Regions from separate parts of the Homo sapiens genome. Here region 1 is linked to region 2. Evidence: promoter capture Hi-C in human tissues and cell types (Jung and others, 2019). All regions are on one chromosome and are shown on one strand. Each heading gives the region's core, a stretch centred on a gene start or on the middle of the fragment in contact. The rest is flanking DNA. Distances are from core to core; before and after follow the strand shown.

The links. The method cuts DNA at HindIII sites, captures the fragments that hold promoters and counts their contacts. A contact is called where the count stands out against the background at its distance.
Region 1: a contact is called between a fragment that was not itself captured here and the fragment with the promoter of GABRA5 in region 2, in 1 of the 25 tissues and cell types used here (dorsolateral prefrontal cortex).

What each region holds. Positions count from the first base shown.
Region 1 is chr15:26,623,666-26,627,825 of GRCh38, forward strand. All of the region lies in intron 3 of GABRB3 (gamma-aminobutyric acid type A receptor subunit beta3), which reads right to left. Among named protein-coding and RNA genes, the nearest start is that of GABRB3, 150 kb to the right of the region's middle. The HindIII fragment of the contact is 3,725 bases long and covers 453-4,160 here.
Region 2 is chr15:26,864,838-26,868,678 of GRCh38, forward strand. GABRA5 (gamma-aminobutyric acid type A receptor subunit alpha5) reads left to right here and starts at 2,225. Exons shown (of 11, transcript NM_000810.4): 1 at 2,225-2,274. The HindIII fragment of the contact is 20,920 bases long and covers 1-3,841 here.

The DNA of each region.
Region 1 (4,160 bases), core at 1,065-3,564, 240 kb before region 2:
CTGGGGTCCCTATCACCCGCTTAAACTGCCCCAGGTCCAGGTAATGGACAACTAAAGACAGCCCCTGTGCCCCAAGGGCCTGAAATTATTTAAACCAGCCAATTCTGAGCCTGCACACCCCGTGTCACCCATTCCTTCCCAGCAACCACAATAAAGGCATTTCCCCTCCCTCTGCTGCCTGACCCACCCTGGCACTCCCTGAGCAGCCCCCATGGCATGGTGTGGCTCCCTGCTGCTCCAGAACTGGAAGGAACACACTCTCCTCTCAATGGCAGTTGTGTCCTGATCTGTCGGCCTTGCCTGACCTAAATAATAATAAAACCTCCAGTTTAAAACACAAAGCCGCCTGTGAGGAAAACTAGCGTAGCAATGGTGAGTTCAAGGGGTAGAAGGGATGGTGTGCAGAGGCCTCCGAGGAGTGGACAGTGCTGAGTGGTGGGTAAAGCAAAGGCCTGAAAGGTTCTCGGACACTGGGCTGATGCAGAACATCAGGATGAGAATGCACCTTCACAGGGCATATTCCGCCCCTTCATCACCATTACCTTTCGCTGGTGTGGGCGGTGCGCTGGAACTGAGGCGTGCAAAGTTGTGGTTTCACAACAAAAGGAGGATGTGTTAGTGGTGGCGACCACAGAGTTTCTCTACTATCACCCTCCATGTTACACTCGTATTGAAATAGAAGTTTCACTTGTTTCTTTCTTTACTCCTAACCCCGCATGCTTACGCCTGAGTCGCGATGTCTAGCGCCCTTCTCAGAGTCCCTCCGGATGGGCTCGCACATGGCTTGCCACAAGAAGGGAGAGAACTTGTCAGTCAGCCCTAGGAGCCCGGCTGTCACTCACAGCCTGACAGCTCGGGCTCCGCGTCTTATTTTGGACTGTGTCGCTCTCCGCACCACCAGCAGCGCCTCTCAGTTTGGGTCTTGGGTGTCTGCTGAGGTGACTTGAGTAGACTAGTGGGTAAGAGCTTAGGTAACAGCAAGAGGGAAAAAACAGTATGAAAATCCAAACCCGCTGCATGTGATCAGCCATGTATGGCAAGGACTATCACATCAGTGGGGGCACAAATCAGTGTCCTCCTTTTTTTCTGGGATACTTACTAGCTGGCAACAAAGGGAAGGGGGTGGTGGAAAGGTCCAAGCCTCCCTCCACTCTCGTGCAGCCGGGAGTAGCAAATGCAGGGTTTTCCTGTTACGGGAGCCATGGTGCCGCTCCTTGTGACGTGCAGTGGTGAGCACTGAGCCAGGAACAGCGGGCAGCCGCTTGTGTGAGTGATCCTTCAGCAAACTCCACGCCCTGTGCTACCTAGAACCTCATTTAACTAGGAGGCAGGTATTATAATTATTATCCTATATCGATGAAGTAACAAAAATTGAAGAGCTGAAGTAACTCGCTCCTCATCCACTCCCTCCACTCCCTCAAACACTAGTAACCCGGGATAGTGGAACTTGAAGTTCGGGCCACCTCCTTTCAGGGCCTGGCTCTCAATGTGGAAGCTCCAAGGGATGGGAGCTAAACAGTTCCTCACAATAAAGTGGAGTGAGCTTGGCAGGGTGGGGCTTTGAAAGGATGTCTCTGAGCATGGAGAGTCAGGTCATGCAGGGGGGTTCTTCAGGGCAGTAATCAGAACCCCGGCACCACCAACTCCTCCTTCCACACCCAACCCATCGCCAAACATTTAGCACAGCTGCTATAGAAAGAAGCTTTGTAAAAGTATCCTTTTCTTCAATGCATCCCATACATCCCAGGGAAGTCACCAATTTTTACCTTTGCAATGATGTGGCATGAACCAAAGAGAAGAGCACAGTCACAAAGAGATGGAATTTGCATGGGATGGAGAGTCTGTCAGAGTTTTGAATTCCAAGCCTGTCTGCAGAAACAGAAGATACTTTGAGACTTTAAAAGCTCCAAGGATTAAAGGAATAGCAGAGGGGACACTGGATTCCTCACAGAACATGAAATGGAAATTAAGCCTTTGTTCTTTAACCTTAATGCTCGAGGTGGACTCAGGTGACGTCTGGGTACAAAAATAAGAAATGACTGGGAAGGGTGGAGCTTCTCAAAGAACAGCCAAGCTGGCCACTCTGCGGCAGGGTGGATCCCTGTTGCTATGGTTCCTGCTGGCTGACAAGGGGCTGGGGAGGTAGCAGTAGACACCAAATGAGACAGACTGTTGATATCGTTTACAGAAGCAGCCCGCGTCCTCCACCAATTGAGTTGCTAACGTTCCCTCTTTTGCCAGACCCCCAGGCTGCACAAGAAACTATCTGTATCATTAGATACACGCCTGCCTTACTTTACTGTGCTTCACAGATACTGCATTTTTAACAATTTGAAGGTTTGTGGCAACCCAGCGTTGAGCATGTAAGTTGAACAACACTGTTTTTCCAACAGCATATGCTCACTTCATGTCTCTGGGTCATATTTTGGTAATTTTCACAAGATTTCAATCTTAGTATTTCATTACTTTTATATTGGTTATGGTGACCTATAATCAGTGATATTTGATATTACTATTATTATCACTCTGGGGCACCAGGAATAGCACCCATATAAGATGGCAAACTTATCGTACAAATGTTGTGTGTCCTCTGACTGATCTACCAACTGACCCTTAACCCTGTATCTCTCCCTCTCCTTGGGCCTCCCTATTCCCTGAGACACAACAATATCAACATTAGGCCAGTTAGTAGCCCTCCAATGGCCTCTAAGGGTTTAAGTGAAAGGAAGAGTCGCCCATCTCTCATGGTAAATGAAAAACCAGAAATGATTAAGCTTAGTGAGGGAGGCAGGTCAAATGATTGATGTGCAAAAGATTTTTATAGGCCCAAAGTTAGGCCTTTTCTACCAGTTAGCCCAATTGTGAATGCAAAGAAAAAGTTTTAGTAGGAAATTAAAAGTGCTACTCTGGGGAATGATAAGAAAGTCCAACAGCCTTACTGCTGATATTGATAGAATATCAAACCAGCCATAACGTTCCCTTAAGTCAAAGTTTAATCTGGAGTAAAATCCTGACTCTCTTCAATTCTGTGAAGGCTGAAAGAGTTAGGGCAGCTGCAGAAGAAAAGTTAGAAGATAGGAGAGATTGGTTCATGAGGTTTAAGCAACGAAGCCATTTCCATAACATAAAAGTGCAAGGTGAAGCAGCAAGTGCTGATGGAGAAGCTGCAGCAAGTTATCCAGAAGATCCCGCTAAAATCACTGATGAAGGTGGTTACACTAAACAACAGGTTTTCAGAGTAGACTTTGGAAGAAGTCTTTTCTAATGGAAGAAGAGGCCATGTCGGACTTTCATAGCAAAAGAGAAGAAGTCATTGTCTGGCTTCGGAGCTTCAAATGACAGGCTGACTCTCTTGCTAGGGGCTAATTGCAGCTGCTGACTTTAAGTTGAAGCCAATGCTCACCCACCATTTTGAAAATCCCAGGGCCCTTAAGAATTCTGCTAATCTACTCCGCCTATGCTCAAAAAATCCAACAATAAAACCTGGGTGTCAACACGTTTACAAAACTGAATATTTTTAACCCACAGTTGAGACCTTCTGCTCAGAAAAAACATTCCTTTCAAAATGTTACTGCTCATTTTCAATGTACCTGGTCACTCAAGAGCTCTAATGGATATGTACAAAGAGATGAATGTTGTTTTCATGTCTGCTAACACAACATCCATTCTACAGCCCATAGATCAAGGAGAAACTGACTTTCAAGTTTTATTATTTAAGAAATACATTTCACAAGGCTGTAGCTGCCATAGACAGTGATTATTTTTACGGATCTGGGCAAAGTAAACTGAAAACATTCTGGAAAGGACTAGATGTCATTCTAGATGTCAGTAAGAACATTCATGATTTATAGGAGGAGGTCAAAATATCAACACCAAGAGGAGTTTGGAAGATGTGGATTCCAGCCCTCATGGATGACTTTGAGGGGTTCAAGTCATTGCAGATGTGGTGGGAATAGCAACAGAACTAGAAGTGAAACTTGAAGATTTCCCTGAATTTCTGGAATCTCATGATTAAACTTGAATGAATGAGGAGTTGCTTCCTATGGATGAGCAAAGAGTGGTTTCTTGAGATGGAATCTACTCCTGGTGAGGATGTTGTGAACATTGTTGCAATGACAACAAAGGATTTAGAAGATTACATAAACTTAGTTGATAAAGCA
Region 2 (3,841 bases), core at 975-3,474:
GCTATTTTAGGCTCTGACACTGGAAATGAAATTCTTATGAAGCCCGGGCCAAGGCTGAGGTTGTGTGGAACTAGGGTGCCCTCTACTGTCTTCCACAACGATCACGACATTGCTTAATTTCATTCAATGAAGAGAAAATGCTAATGAAACAAATGGGAATTCAACGGATAGCCTATTATTTCTCAGCACAAATACAGAATTCTATAGTAAAACAAAAATCATTGAAATGGTAGTAAGCACTCTTCTAGCAATGTGAGTTTCTGTAAGGTTCTGATGGGCCTTACGATTTCACTGTCCCCTCAGGGCAGTCCATCTAAAGTGAGGCTATGTTATGTTACATAAACACTAGGAGGAGAGAGAGTGGCATACCGTTTCATTACAGGGAAGAGAAAAGAATTTAAGCAACATGCTGAAATACAATGTTAAAGAATGACTCTAACTTAAAATGATTTTTATATATTCAATAATATGTGTTGTGTGGACATAAAGCTGATAGAAAGTGTACCAAAAAAAGTGGAAGTTTTAAACATAATCCATCAAAAGAACATATTTCCTTACAGCTGACATTTCTTTTATTATTAAGAATTAATGTCTATAACCCTCGCTAATACAAAAATCATCCCTTGTTTATATACATTTATTTTTGCAAACTCACACCGAATGACTTTGTGTGACAAGCTGTGAAGTTTAAAATTTACCAATTCTTCCAACTCTTTGATTTGCATTATGCTGTTTAATCCTGAGAGAAGAGCAGCTGTCGCTGGTATTAGGTGTTAGAATTCCAACACCTAATAGGTGAAAATTATATTAGGCTGATCATAAAACCATGTTGTTAACTTTTTAAAATTTAATGTCTCCCAAGGAATTTCACCCTAGTGGTACATCTTTTGGGAAATTAGAAAATGAAGAAATGCATACGTTCAGTGATCCATTTTAGAATTAGAAAATTCAAATTAGCATCTTATTTCATTCATATTTCCTGAAGAACCACTGGAAACAGTTATTTAATAGTGTGGCTAAATGTATATTCAGAGAAACACTTCCTGTATATTTGCACATTTATGTATATTTATGTCCTATTCCTGGAATAGATTTACAAGTTTTGTTTTTCAGAAAATTTCAGAATTTCTGGAATGTGCAGAAGTATTAACAGGTAACTTAGATTTGGAATACACTGTATTAGAGATAACTGGAAAAATGAGAGGCTTCCTACACTGGAAGGTCAAAGATCTTTCCTGGAGGGGAGTTAGGAATTTGCCTTTACTTACCATTATTCTGTTAAAAGAGATTATGAATAATGCAGTTTCACAAAAGGAATGGGACAATGGTGTAAGTAAACCTCCCCATCACGTTTTCAGTGGCTTTCCTTTGAGTCTTGAACGTTTTCCACTGGGTGTTATAGTCGAGAGTCCCCCACCTCCTGAGGAAGCAAGACCTGGCAAACCCAAGACGATGCGCTCTTACTTGTGTTGTTTGAAGGGGCCCTGCTGCCGCGCAGTTGTCATTAATGCCACCCTCACCTCCCAGGAACTGCACCACTAGGACGGACGACACACCGACGTAATGACCATAGTAAGACCCCATGTACGTGGCTAATGAGGCAGTGACCCGACGTGGCTCGGAAGCCCTGCTGGGGAGATCCCGCCCCGTCACCCCAGAGGCGCTCTCCGACCTGCAGCCCCCAGGGCTCCTGGCCCTTTCCCGTTTGCCACTGCGGCTTGTTGTCAAGAAATGGAACTTCAGAAAACCCCCAGATATACACTGCGTTAGGTAAGGATTTCATTCTAATCGAGTCCAATGTGACCCTGGCTTTCCCTCCCGTAGTTATGCATTCCTGTCTATGAGTGAGATGAAAAGAATGTCCACAGGCCAGCTTCTTTCAGAAGCGCCTAAGAGATGCGCATGTAAGGGGTGCCATGGAGCACCCGGGAAGGACCCAGGCCTGGGCAGGGAGGCGTTGGGGCCGGCTCTAGGGAGCAAAGCTGTCGGAGTCCAGGCCTCTATCACCCGACTGCTGACACTGCCCTCCCATCCCTGCTCTACAAGCGGGCGGTGGTGACTACACGAGGCGCCGAAGATGCTGTTGAGGGCCCTGGAGAAACTTCAGCAGAACAGGGCCTCTCCCCTTGCAGGCCGAGCCGGGGGCCCTGCGCCCTCCCCCTCCGCCCAGCTCGGCCAAGGGCGCATTTGCTGAGCGTCTGGCGGCCTCTACCGGAGCACCTCTGCAGAGGGCCGATCCTCCAGCCCAGAGACGACATGTGGCGCTCGGGCGAGGTGAGAGCGGGCGCGAGTGCGCCGGGGGCGCTGGGGGGCTCTGCGGCGGGCGGCGCGCGGCCCGGGGCGCGGCGCGGAGCGGAGCTGCAGGGCGGCGGCGGGAGCGCGGGGCGCAAGAGCCGCTCCGCCGGGAGTGCCGGGGAAGTTCGCGCTGGCAGCATGGGGCGGTGACGCCGCACCGGCCTTCCGCGCCTGCCAGCCGGGCGAGAGCAGGCGGAGGAGAAGGAGGATGCATCCTCACCGACGGCTCGCCTCCCGGGGCCGGCGCGCAGGGTGAGCCCTGGGCGCGCTGGGCCGGGGCAGTGGGGTAAGAGGACGCGAGCGGGGAAGAGGACCGGCCGCCCCGGCTCGGTCCGCACCCTTCTCCTCGGGGCGCCTGAGCGGCAGGCTGCGTGGCCGGGGAGGAGAGGTGCAGAGCAGGCGGGGCGCGCAGCCAGGCCAGAGCGCAAACTTTACCCTGGCGACTGCGGGGCTGAAGCCGGGCGCGGGAGAGAGCGGGGTCCGGGCGGCTCATCCCTGCCGGACGGGGCACCAGGGCGCGGTGACCGGTTGGGGGTGGGGGACACCCGTTGCCACCATCACGGGAGCCGGAGGGGTGAGATCGCCCACCTGGAAAGCCAGCGTCAGCCCCGGGGCTCTGAGGCGCGCGGCGTCCCGGCGCTGCTCGCGGGGTGGACTCGGACCCCGCGGGGGTGTCGCGCGCGTGTCGCGCGGGCTGCTCGAGGCCAGGGGACTTGGAGTCGCTGCTGCACCGCGCGCTCCCAGCCCAGGAGGAAGGCGCTGCCTGGCGGAGCGCTTGGCTCGTACCCGGGGCAGGAGCAGGGGAAGTCTGCGAAAGCCGGGAGCGAGCCGGGGAGGGCCGGGGAGCTGGAGACCCTCGGCGTGCCGCTGCGGACCGCGCGGGTGGCGACCGCGGGTGCCAGGGCGACCCAGGCTGCGGCTCCGCAGTGCAGCCCCCGCGCCCACCTGCCCTGGCGCGCCGGCCCTGGTGAGCCTCTGTGGGGGTCCGGAGGGTCGTGGGAGCGCAGCCTCTCCTGGGGGTCCCTGGCTCGGGGCTGAGGGGCGGCGGGAGGCGCCGCCCGGGTTTCCCGCATGCAGCGCCGCGTGCTCGCCGCCTGGCTCTGGCCCGGGCCCCGCGACGAGCCCCCCGGACGCGCCCAGGCGACCACCGCATGGCACCCTGCCCTTCTTGGCAGGAGTCGCAGAAGGCCTTCGCTTCCGAGGTGGAAGTACCTGTTGTGTCTCCCAATTCCGGAGTTTGCGGGGGATGGGGGTTGGGGGGGCTTCTTGGGAAAATGCTTCTTTTCGAAGCATACTGTTCGGATGCCTGTGAGCACCTATTTGCGTTATGCGCATACTGAGAAATGCGTGTTTTCAGGAAGGTTAGTCGTTGAGCCCAGGGACAATGTCTGCCTGGATCTCAAATACATTAATTAGGGTCCAGCATTGAGTGGAGAGACTTCCACAGATGCAGTGCTTAAGTTATGTAGTCACGGGGACCGAATGCCGGGAAAGTAGCCACACTCTTTTATAGGCAGTTGTCACAGTATTGTGATCCTGCAGAAAA